Regions from separate parts of the Homo sapiens genome. Here all the other regions are linked to region 4. Evidence: promoter capture Hi-C in human tissues and cell types (Jung and others, 2019). All regions are on one chromosome and are shown on one strand. Each heading gives the region's core, a stretch centred on a gene start or on the middle of the fragment in contact. The rest is flanking DNA. Distances are from core to core; before and after follow the strand shown. Region 1 overlaps BCAS3 (BCAS3 microtubule associated cell migration factor). Region 2 overlaps BCAS3 (BCAS3 microtubule associated cell migration factor). Region 3 has its middle 7.9 kb from the start of NACA2. Region 4 holds the start of TBX2 (T-box transcription factor 2).

Evidence for each region. Contacts are between HindIII fragments. The study calls those that stand out against the background at their distance.
Region 1: a fragment that was not itself captured here is called in contact with the fragment with the promoter of TBX2 in region 4 in 2 of the 25 tissues and cell types used here (IMR-90 fibroblasts and mesendoderm cells).
Region 2: a contact is called between a fragment that was not itself captured here and the fragment with the promoter of TBX2 in region 4, in 1 of the 25 tissues and cell types used here (adrenal gland).
Region 3: a contact is called between a fragment that was not itself captured here and the fragment with the promoter of TBX2 in region 4, in 2 of the 25 tissues and cell types used here (mesendoderm cells and thymus).

The regions. Positions count from the first base shown.
Region 1 is chr17:61,170,793-61,173,492 of GRCh38, forward strand. The region is part of intron 22 of BCAS3 (BCAS3 microtubule associated cell migration factor); the gene reads left to right. Among named protein-coding and RNA genes, the nearest start is that of BCAS3-AS1, 36 kb to the left of the region's middle. The HindIII fragment of the contact is 7,372 bases long and covers 1-2,700 here.
Region 2 is chr17:61,154,544-61,157,243 of GRCh38, forward strand. The region is part of intron 22 of BCAS3 (BCAS3 microtubule associated cell migration factor); the gene reads left to right. Among named protein-coding and RNA genes, the nearest start is that of BCAS3-AS1, 20 kb to the left of the region's middle. The HindIII fragment of the contact is 4,324 bases long and covers 1-2,700 here.
Region 3 is chr17:61,597,741-61,600,440 of GRCh38, forward strand. No RefSeq gene overlaps it. Among named protein-coding and RNA genes, the nearest start is that of NACA2, 7.9 kb to the left of the region's middle. The HindIII fragment of the contact is 4,338 bases long and covers 1-2,700 here.
Region 4 is chr17:61,398,551-61,401,250 of GRCh38, forward strand. TBX2 (T-box transcription factor 2) reads left to right here and starts at 1,293. Exons shown (of 7, transcript NM_005994.4): 1 at 1,293-2,021. The coding sequence starts at 1,627. TBX2-AS1 (TBX2 antisense RNA 1) reads right to left here and starts at 1,056. Exons shown (of 2, transcript NR_125751.1): 1 at 689-1,056. RefSeq lists promoters at 250-1,510, 1,130-1,377 and a cis regulatory region at 1,366-1,377. The HindIII fragment of the contact is 8,441 bases long and covers 1-2,700 here.

The sequences.
Region 1 (2,700 bases), core at 50-2,549, 230 kb before region 4:
TGGCTAGAACTCACAGGGCAGAGTCCCCGAGAGGAAAGAGCTGTACACGGAGAGAGAACATTCTAGAGATCTACAGAGGACATCCTGCAAGCCTTCAGCTGAGCACATGGGAAACTACCCAAGGCCCAGGAAAGAGCCACTTAAAAAGATCAGAGGGAACATTCGCTGGAGCTTATGCAGGGCTGGGAGTGATTTCTGTTCCCATTAGCCAGATTGGAAAATCTCATAATTTGCAGGTAAAGTGATACAAGATTTTTGTGTCAAAAGTGGGGCAAAATTTCCTCTAAATTCCTGTAGCCTTCCTTGCTTAAAAAAAAGCAAGACCCACGGCACCTCCTAATTAAGTCGCTTATAATCAGTGATAAAGAGAAAAATGTTGTAAGGTTCTTACACTGTACATGAAGTGATATAATACATCCTAAATGTGTAGACTTGGATAAGTTACAAATATATGCTATACATTCTAAAGCAGCCTCTAAAGTAACATAGGTGTAGCTAATCAGTTAACAAATGAGATAAAAATGGCATCCTAAAAATATTCAGTAGATCCAAAACAACACATGGGAACCAAAAAGAAAAAAATGGAACAAAGAATAAATGTATGAACTAATAGAAAACATTTAGCAAGATGGTAGATTTAAACTTGGCCATATCAAAAGTCATATTGAATGTAAATGGTCTAAACACTCAATTAAAAGACAGGAAATGTAAGATTGGATAAAAAAGGCAAGAATCACCTACATCTTGCCCATAAAAATCTCACCTAAATATAAAGACATGAATAGGACAAAAGTAAAAGGATAGAAATAATGATATATTATGCTAATACTAATTTTATTTTATTTTTTTTTTGAAACAGCGTCTGTTGCCAAGGCTGATATGCAGTGACATGATTACAGCTCACTGCAGCCTCAAACTCCTGGGCTCAAGTCATCCTCCTGCTTCAGCCTCCTGAGTAGCTGGGATTTCAGGCATGTGCCACCATGCCCTGCTAATTAAAAAAAAATTTTTTTTTTTTTTTGTAGAAATGGAGTCTCACTGTGTTGTTCGGGCTGTTCTTGAACTTCTGGAATTAAGTGATTCTCTCACCTTGGCCTTCCAAAGTGTTACGATTACCAGTGTGAGCCACCATACCCAGCAAACAGGAAGCTTTAAAAAGCAGGAATGGCTATATTAATAGACAAAGTAGACTTCAGAACAAAGAATATTATCACAGAATAAGGAAACATTTCATAATTACAAAGGGGTCAGTTCGTGAAGAGAACATATCAGTTCTGAATGTTTGCCTCATTACAGAGCTTCAAAACACATGAAACAAAACTGATAGAACTACATGTAGAATTGGGTGAACACACAATTATAGTTGGAGATTCAACATCTCTTTCTCAGTCCTCAATAGAATAGACAAAGAATCAGCAAGAAGGAGATAGAATATTTAGAATAACACTAATCACCAACTTAATCTAGTTGACATTTACTGAAAAACAAAAAACACTACCAACGGCAGAACCACCTTCTTTCCAAGTGCACACAAACTATTTACTATAATAATTCATATTCTGGCCGGGCGTGGTGGCTTACGCCTAATCCCAGCACTTTGGGAGGCCGAGGCGGGCGGATCACGAGGTCCAGAGATCGAGACCATCCTGGCTAACACGGTGAAACCCCGTCTCTACTAAAAATACAAAAAAATAATTAGCCGGGCTTAGTGGCTGGCGCCTGTAGTCCTAGCTACTCGGGAGGCTGAGGAGGGAGAAGGGCGTGAACCCAGGAGGCAGAGCTTGCAGTGAGCTGAGATCGCACCACTGCACTCCAGCCTGGGCGACAGAGCGAGACTCCGTCTCAAAAAATAATAATGAAAATAATTCATATTCTGAGTCCTAAAGCAAGCCTCAATAAATCTAAAGGATTGGCTGGGCGCGGTGGCTCATGCCTTTAATCCCAGCACTTTGGGAGGCCAAGGCGGGCGGATCACGAGGTCCGGAGATCGAGACAATCCTGGCTAACACGGTGAAACCCATCTCTACTAAAAATACAAAAAGAAAATTAGCCGGGCGTGGCGGTGGGCACCTGTAGTCCCAGCTACTTGGGAAGCTGAGGCAGGAGCATGGCGTGAACCCGGGAGGCGGAGCTTGCAGTGAGCTGAGATGACGCCACTGCACTCCAGCCTGGGCGACAGAGCAAGATTCCATCTCAAATAAATAAATAAATAAATAGGATTTAAGTCATACAAAGTGTCTTCTGACCACAATGGAATTAAATTAGAAATCAGTAGCCTTAAGGGATTTGGAAAAATCACCAAATATTTGGAACCTAGCACATCTAAATAACTCATGGATTTAAGAAATAAAAAGGAAAATTAGAAATTGTTTTGAGGCTGGGCACGGTGGCTCATGCCTGTTATTCCTAGCACTTTGGGAGGCCAAGGCGGGAGGATCAGTTGAAGCCAGGAGTTGACACCAGCCTGGCCAACACTGAAATCCCATCTCTACTAAAAATAGAAAAAATTAGCCAGGCATGGTGGTGCACACCTGTAGTCCCAGCTGCTTGGGAGGCTGAGGCATGAGAATCATTTGAACCCGAGAGGCAGAGGTTGCAGTGAACTGAGATCACGCCACTGCACCCCAGCCTGGGTGACAAAGCAAGACTCTGTCTCCAAAAAAAAAAAAATTGTTTTGAACTAAATGAAAATTAAAACAT
Region 2 (2,700 bases), core at 28-2,527, 240 kb before region 4:
TCCCAACTCAGCCACCCCAGTGGCTGGGACCACAGTGTGCACCACCACACCTGACTAATTTTTTTACTTTTTATTTTTTTCTATAGATGAGATCTCTCTACATTGCCCAGGCTGGTCTCAAACTCCTGAGCTTAAGCGACCCTCCCCACATGGGTCTCCTGAAGTACTGGGATTACAGGCATGAGCCACCGCGCCCAGCCTCAGAGGGATTTTGTTCTTGAGAACTAAAACGTGACTTCTGTTAATCATCAGAATATTTATTTAATGTGTTTAATGTAAAAAAGGAATTACATTTATTGTAAATGAAGGCACTAAATATATTTTTACTCTTAAATTACAATGTTGAAGTATCCTTTTGATCAAATGCAACTGGTTTTTTTTTTTTGGTGGGGGGTGTTTGGCTTGCAAAAGATAAATCATTTCAGAAATGTTTTTCTATTTGCATTTTTTCTTGAAATTTTCTTTTGAGTATGGAAAAGTGATCAACAAACAATACAGAGAATTTTTAATGAGACATGTCAGGCATCGTGGAAGGCTCTTGCCTGGGTCACTTATGTGATGACCTCAACAAACCCATTTTATTATACAATGAAAAAAGTGTACGAAGCTTACATATGATTTTTTTTTAAGTTTCTTCCTGCCAGAGCATGGATTAAAGAAACTTTAGTAAAGAGTAAAAAATTTTAAAACACACAGTTTGATATGAATTTTGGTAAAAGTTATCAGAGACAAATACTAGTGGGCCAACGAAAACACTGTATTTATAGGAAAATTTGAATTGGGGCAATAAATATGTCCTGAGGCTTTGGTGGCATCAAAGTATTGGTGCTTTATTTTTTGTGATTTATTGTTTTATCAACAGAAGTGAGCACTTGTGTTCAGAAAAGGATAATTCACACTTAAATCTTGTTTTTATTTAATCAAGCTTAAATAACAGGTTAGAGTGGTAGCAAAAAAAAAAAAAAAAAGTCTAATATTTAGTTTGAATCTTAAATTGGTCACCCAGAGCTGCTCTCTCTAGGAGCGAACCTCTCTATTTGTCAATAAACAAGAGAGAGATACAGGCTCCCAGATAACAGGCATTTGGTAAACTGGCGACAGTCATACAAGCGAGAATGTTAAAATGACTTCAGCTCTTTCTAGCTTCATTATGTCAGCCTGGCAGATCACATATGGCATTATGGAAATCAGCAAATGAAAACCATATTGATCAGCATTGAGAACAAATGTAAAAAAGGTGGTCTCAGGGAGGAGCAGAGAAGAAGAATGCTTTCCTGTTCAACCTGATAGGCCCTTGTTAAGGCCTTTTAATCATTTATTAACATAACCCTCCTTCTTCCCTCTCCACTCAGATTACCTCAGCCACAGAGCATCCTGCTCCATTTATCTTTTAATGCTTCCTTTATTTAATTTATTTTTAAGCTCTAAGTTATACTCTTATTTCAGAATTGAGTTTTACTTTTCATGGTATTGTTTAAAGTGACTTAAATGACTTTTCCCAACAAGCTCACCAGGCATTCAAAGGAAGAAAAGCATTTGCTGAGATTCACCTATCAGCAAATAATTTACTCGGTATGCACCACAAACAAACGCAGAGAGACAGAGAAAGACAGTCAGCCAGACACATTAAAAAAAAAAAAAAGAAAAGTAAAATCTGAGTTGTTACTAAGCCTAATTCTCTGGTTAAAGTTTGGGTCAATGTATTCATTTTGGTCTTCTTTTCAGGGATTGGAATTGAGCCTGGTAAAATTCCTTAGGTCTAAAACTGGAATCTCAGGCACCTTCTCTTTCCCTCTTCATTTTCTGAGTTCGGGAGAAAGGTGGACTTTTGTTTTATCTTGTTTCTTTTGGGGGAAACTTAGAGTAATATTTGGTCTGCCAAAATGAGATAGAGAAATGGAAATACGTGCTTTGTGGAGGATCCTGTTTTCCTTGAGTGTCCTTACCTGAAATGGTCTCTTTGGTTTTGTAGGTTCAGACTGAGGTTGGAACGGGCTTGCTTCTCTCTCTCACCTTCTCCCTACCCAACCCCTGCCTCCCCTTTTATTTTTATGTCGAGTTTCATCATTTGGTAAGAAATTTCAGAGGGATTTTTAAATATGAAACTGTGTCTTTTTGTAGTTGATGAGTAACCTGTGGATGTGAATCCTTGGAATCCTAATTGGCACATAACAATAATTGTTTCTATCCTGCTATAAACCATAAGTAACTCCTAAAAAAATTCACATGCACACAAAAAATCTGCAGTGTGGATATAAGTTAATGCCCTGAAGCTGGTACATACAGACCACCTCAACGATGGACTCCTTTATGAATGATTTAGGTAATTGACACAATTTAATATTTGCAATTATTTTTCCTTTGAAACAACACTTAAAAAAAACAAATTCTACAACATTTAAACAGTTGAGGCATCACTCTCCTATAAATTTAGTATTAAATTTCAAAATACGTATTTGTTTTAAAAAGCAAATGTGGTTAATCTCGAAATCATTGAACTTTCTCTTTGCTCTGGACTCCTTGTCTGAGGCTGTTTGGGATGGATTAATTTTAACTTTTCTTTCCTGTTTCTTTGCTTTCCCAGTGCATCTGGGGGAAATAACTCTGATTGATTTGGATATCAAAAGATGTACAATGTGAAGATCTAATTTATCAAAACAGAATTCAATAATTTTATTCATTTTGGCTCTCCCTTGAGAC
Region 3 (2,700 bases), core at 168-2,667, 200 kb after region 4:
AGTGGTCCCAAAGAGATCTCCATAAGTGGCCAGCTTTAATTTGTATGCCTCAGGGGTTCACAGGACTGTAAATGGAAATGAAGGGCTGGCCCTGGTCTCAAAATGACAGCTTGCTTGCTTACAGGCAGGATATGGTAGTTCAAAATTAGCCACAATTATCAGAGTCATGCGTTCTACCTCCTGCTTATTTAGCAACCTGAGTCCCTCAGTCTAAACCTGAAAGGTTATTCTAACTGCATCTGATCAAATATATTAGCTGAATTAGATTTAATCCATTGCCCAACACCAGCTCCTTCCATAGCATTAGACAAATGGTCTAAGTGTCTTTTCTTCCCTACCTGGATAATTAGAGATTATTCTCTTGGGTTCTGTGATGAAATACTAAACTCCTGCTTTTGTTGCCTCTACCCAAGGGCTTAGGGCTTTTTCCTGTGCTCGTGGCTGGGGAAAGTAGCCCTTTCTTTCTCTTGTACTTCCCTTGTGTCTACAGCAACACACCCTTAAATACTTATCTTGTTTGAATGGGAAAAAAATCCTGTACTACTTGTTGAGATTTATACGTAAAAAATAATATAAGGCCACAGTTACAGGTAGGTAAAGTGGCTCCATAATCTAGCTTTTTGTAGTACAGAGAATAAACACAGAGATACCCTGAAACAAGATCTTGTTTCAGGGTATCTCTATTCGGCCACCTGGCTTACTTCTCCAATCAGTCTAATCTAGATAGTTTTCTGATCAGTTTTGAGAAGGAGATAATATTAGTCTAACCCCTTTTACAGATGAGAAAGAATTTATGAGTTAGGCTTTTGTGTCTGACTTATGCTCTTCCCTCTATAGTTATATATTAAAATCCTATTAAAATAATTTAAAGTGAGTTAATATATGTAAAGCATTCAGAGCAGTACCTGTACCTGGTACATGATACTATATAAACATTTGCTCTTATTTTGAGTTTGTTTGTTTGTTTTAAGAAACTGGGTCTCCCTGTGTTGCCCAGGCTGGTCTTGAACTCCTGGCTTCAAGCAATCCTCCTGCCTTGGCCTCCCATTCTAACTCCTTTGTGAAGTCTTCCCTGTTCTCATCTGGCCACTCCTCTCTCTGTATAATCAGGTGCTTTTTGGACTTGTTTTCCATCAACTTACACTGTATTTAATTGCTTCTATTGCTGTCTCCCTCACTAGACAGTAAGCTATTTGAAGGCAAGAACCATGACTGTTCTTTGTATTGTCTTCCTCTTCAGTGCCAATCATATTACTTTCAGGCATTACATCCTTTAAAAAGTGTTCATTGGTTTAGTTGCACTGATGATCTTCAAAACCGGTGGGAAGTTATTCACCAGTGTAGGCTTTGCTCTTAGACCTGCCTACAAATACTAAGAGACGTTAAATTAGTTTCTCTATGGTGTAAATTGGGGTTGTGATAAAATTAAGCAAGTGGCACGGTCAAATGGCAGGGACCAGAAAAAGGGTAATTGCAAAACAGTAATCAAAAATTGCACAAACAATGGGATTAATTTAGATTGGAACTCACTAAAGCAGCAGGCAGACTGAGCCTCAAAATTAGGGACAAGGATCTATACTAGGTAAGGGAATAGGGCAAGCTGAAGCATGGTTCAGACCCCATCCACAGATAGCTGCAATCTTAAGAAGGTATCTGAAATGGCTTCTAAGTGTTGCATTGACAGGTGACTGTGGGATCGGAGATCAAAAGATCACAGTCTCTTAACTAGGACGGATAAGTCTTTCCACATTCGTTTTGTCCCCAACATGTTTGTTAAAAGATCTCAGCTTATTAGAGTAGTTCCCATTTATCCAGGCTCATCTTCACAAATGTACCTTCCAGAGCTGTGTCCAGATAATAGTGCTATGTCTTCAAAGAGGATCACAGATTTAATCATCACTTAATTAGAGAACCAATTCCAATTTTCTAAATACTACAGGATTTTCCACGTTGAATTTGTTCTCTGGAACTCCTAATGGCTGGGCTTTTGACCAGAGTACGAATAGCATTCACCCTTAATGCTCACGAAGTGGAACATTAGATGCCCAGCTCTCTAGATGTTGTTTGGTTGCAGATGGCAGGTCCTTAAGTCTAAAAGTTATCCCTCTCAATGGTGTACCCCTATGCAATAGCACATGCTTCTGACCTCAAATTCCACAGTACTGCTTACTTGGATCAGAGAAGGAAGAAAAGGAAGGGAGAGAGGGAGGACATTGTGTAGGAAGGAAAGTTTAATAATGAGTTTGGTGGGGCAGACAACAGAAAATGCTGTCTAGACTTAGAGGTCGCTGAGAGGCTGAATTTAATAGTTTTGATAATAGGAGAACTAAAGAAGATGTCTTTCAGTCTTTAAGAGAGTTAAAGAGGGCTCTAAGTGCAGAAGGTTAGAAGTACTTGGCTGCCAACCCGTTAGTATGCACTTGGGACTATACTTTATCTTGTCCCAAAATTGATTTTTCATTTGTTGAAGGGTGTGCCCCCCAACAATTGAATTGTTTTCAGCTAGAAAGTCTGCAAAGAGCTCAGGTCCTTGAGTAAAGATGTTTTTTATGTTTCTATCATTTGGACTCTTAACTGTTAAAGAGGGTTAACCAGATATTTGTGTTTGTAAAGTCCAAGAACTCTATTGTCTGAGAAAGGGAGTCATCCTAGACTTCCCCCTCTGTGGTGGGCATCTGATGTTTCTTTGGCTATCTGAAA
Region 4 (2,700 bases), core at 43-2,542:
GTGTTCGCGCCCGAGCCCGATTGGAAGCAGGTGCGTGGTCGCTTCACTCTCCCCGTGCACACCTTGAGTTATAGCTCTCGCTGCGCACAGAGGGCACCACACGGGGCCCGACACACACACACACACACACACACACACACACACACACACACACACCATCACTTCATGGGGGGGAAACTGAGGCTGCCGGAAGACAGAAAACGAAGACTGATCACAGAAGAGGGGGCTTCAATCACAGGTGCTCGCAGACACCCCAACTCCCTCACGCGTTACTCAGCACTCCTTAACTTAGGAGACGTGCGCTTCCGAGAGATGAGAAGAAACTAAAAAAGTGGTTGGCAGGGCGAAGAGAGGAAGCCGGTATTTCGGAAGAAGGAGACTTTCGTCTCCGGTACCGGATAGGGCGAAAATTCGTTGGGTCGCGGGTGGAGAATCCGGGGTCCGCCCGCGCGGTGCCGCCCTGTGCTCAGCGAAAGGTGCGCTCACCTTCCTGGCCCCGAGGATCCGCTCCTCCCGGCCGCTGGAAAGCTCAGGGCGGGGCCCGGGCCTGCGGAGAACTCCAGGTTCCTTCCGAGTCTTCCGGTGAAGGCGGGCGCGGGTAGGGGGTCCCCGCGTTTCCCCAGCGCAAGGCCGCGTCCCGCTCCCGCCCGCGCCGGCCCCAGCAGGGCTCGGCCATGGCTCCACTCACCAGCTCCCGCCACCTGGGATCCGCTCCCGGACCTCGGCCGCCCGAGCCTCCCGACTCGCCCGCCCACCGGCCTCGCTTTCCAGTGCCTGCTGTCTCTTTCCGGGGCGCAGGGACCCCCAGGCGGCGCCACGACCCGGAGCTGGGTCGGAGGCCAGGCTGGGGCTCGGGCCAGAGCGGCCGGGCCTCTGGGCGCGGGAGAAGGAGGGCGCCCCCTCTCCGCTCGGGGTCGTGTCAATGCTTTGCACTTGGGGCCGGCGTGCGGCTGCGGGTCCTTCCCCAAGGCCCCGGGACCCGGGCTCCCCTCGCCTCAGGCCCTTTCGGCGGGTCAGGTCGGCCCTCCGCGCTCTCCAGTCCGGCGCAGGCAGCCGCAGGCGCGGGCGGGCGGTGGGGGCCGGGGCAGGAGGAGGGGTCTCGGGGCCCGGCGGCCCGTCATTGGTTAATATTTTATTCTGTTGACATGTTTTCTTACTGCTGAGGCTTCCGACACCTTCTCCCAGGCCCCCCCTCCCGGCCGGAGCTTGGCCTGAGCTGTCAAAACCCCGCCCCCGGAGACCCACAATTGGTCCAAAAAGCGTAAAATCAGCAATCAAGGGGGGCCTGGCTCGTTAGCGCAGGGGATCCGAGCTGGGCAGGACATGTGAGATAGTCACAGTTTTCCAGAGATCACGACAAGATCTAACCAGTCGCGCGTGGTCCCCGGCGCCGGAGCGGGCCAGCTCAGCCCGGCCCAGCCCGGCCCCGCGCAGAGCCCCCGCCGCCCCCGCGCACAGAGCCGGGTGCCCCTTGCGGTGCGCCGGACGGGAAGCCCCGAGGAGCAGCTGCTGCGCCCGCCACCCGGGTCGTCCGTCCACCGCGCGCGCCGCCGCCCGGGCCGGGGGTCCGAGCCGCGCGCCCCCGGCCCCGGCCCCGGCCCCCGGGCGCCTGGGCCGGATGTCCCGATGAGAGAGCCGGCGCTGGCGGCCAGCGCCATGGCTTACCACCCGTTCCACGCGCCACGGCCCGCCGACTTCCCCATGTCCGCCTTTCTGGCGGCGGCGCAGCCCTCCTTCTTCCCGGCACTCGCGCTGCCGCCCGGCGCGCTGGCCAAGCCGCTGCCCGACCCGGGCCTGGCGGGGGCGGCGGCCGCGGCGGCGGCGGCGGCAGCAGCGGCCGAGGCGGGGCTGCACGTCTCGGCACTGGGCCCGCACCCGCCCGCCGCGCATCTGCGCTCCCTCAAGAGCCTGGAGCCCGAGGACGAGGTGGAGGACGACCCCAAGGTGACGCTGGAGGCCAAGGAGCTGTGGGACCAGTTCCACAAGCTAGGCACGGAGATGGTCATCACCAAGTCCGGGAGGTAGGGCTGCCGGCCGGCTGGAAGGCGCGCGGGCGGGCGGGCGGGCTGGGGCACGGGACTGCACGGATCAGAGCAGAGCTGGGGACTCCCGGCTCCCGGCTCCCGGCTCCAGGTTCTGGCCCTGACGCCACGCTTCGCTCCCACGGACAACCAAGTTGACTTTTCTCGTTTGGCACCGGAGCGATTTTTTTTTAAAACAAAAACGCTAAAATCCTCCGAATGAAATAAAACGAAAACATACTGCTAAAGAATAGCCCCAACCGTTCTGAGTCCCAGCGCAGAGGAGGCCCCGCGGCTTGGCCCTGGCGGTCTCCTCCGCCCCGCGCTCTCGCTCTTCTGCGTCCGGGTCCGTCTCCGAGCTCGGGGGAAATTCAGCCTCTCTCAGACTCTGCTCCGACCCCGAAGCCCCTAGTGGGACCTGGGCCCAGCTAACCCCACGCTGGTTGCTCGGTTCCTGGCAGCGAGCCCCGGGTCAGCCGAGCCCTCCGCCTCACCGGGCTGGGAGCCCTTTCTCCACCGCGGGCATCCGAGCCCTGGACGCATCCGCCGCCCCAGGCCTTAAAGCCTGAAGAAAGCCACAGCCCCGGCCCCTCCACCCTTCGACTCAGCCACCGAGAATCCAGGCCTCGGGTTCACCCTCTTCCCCCGAACTGCACGGCCAGGATGTCTTATCAGGCTC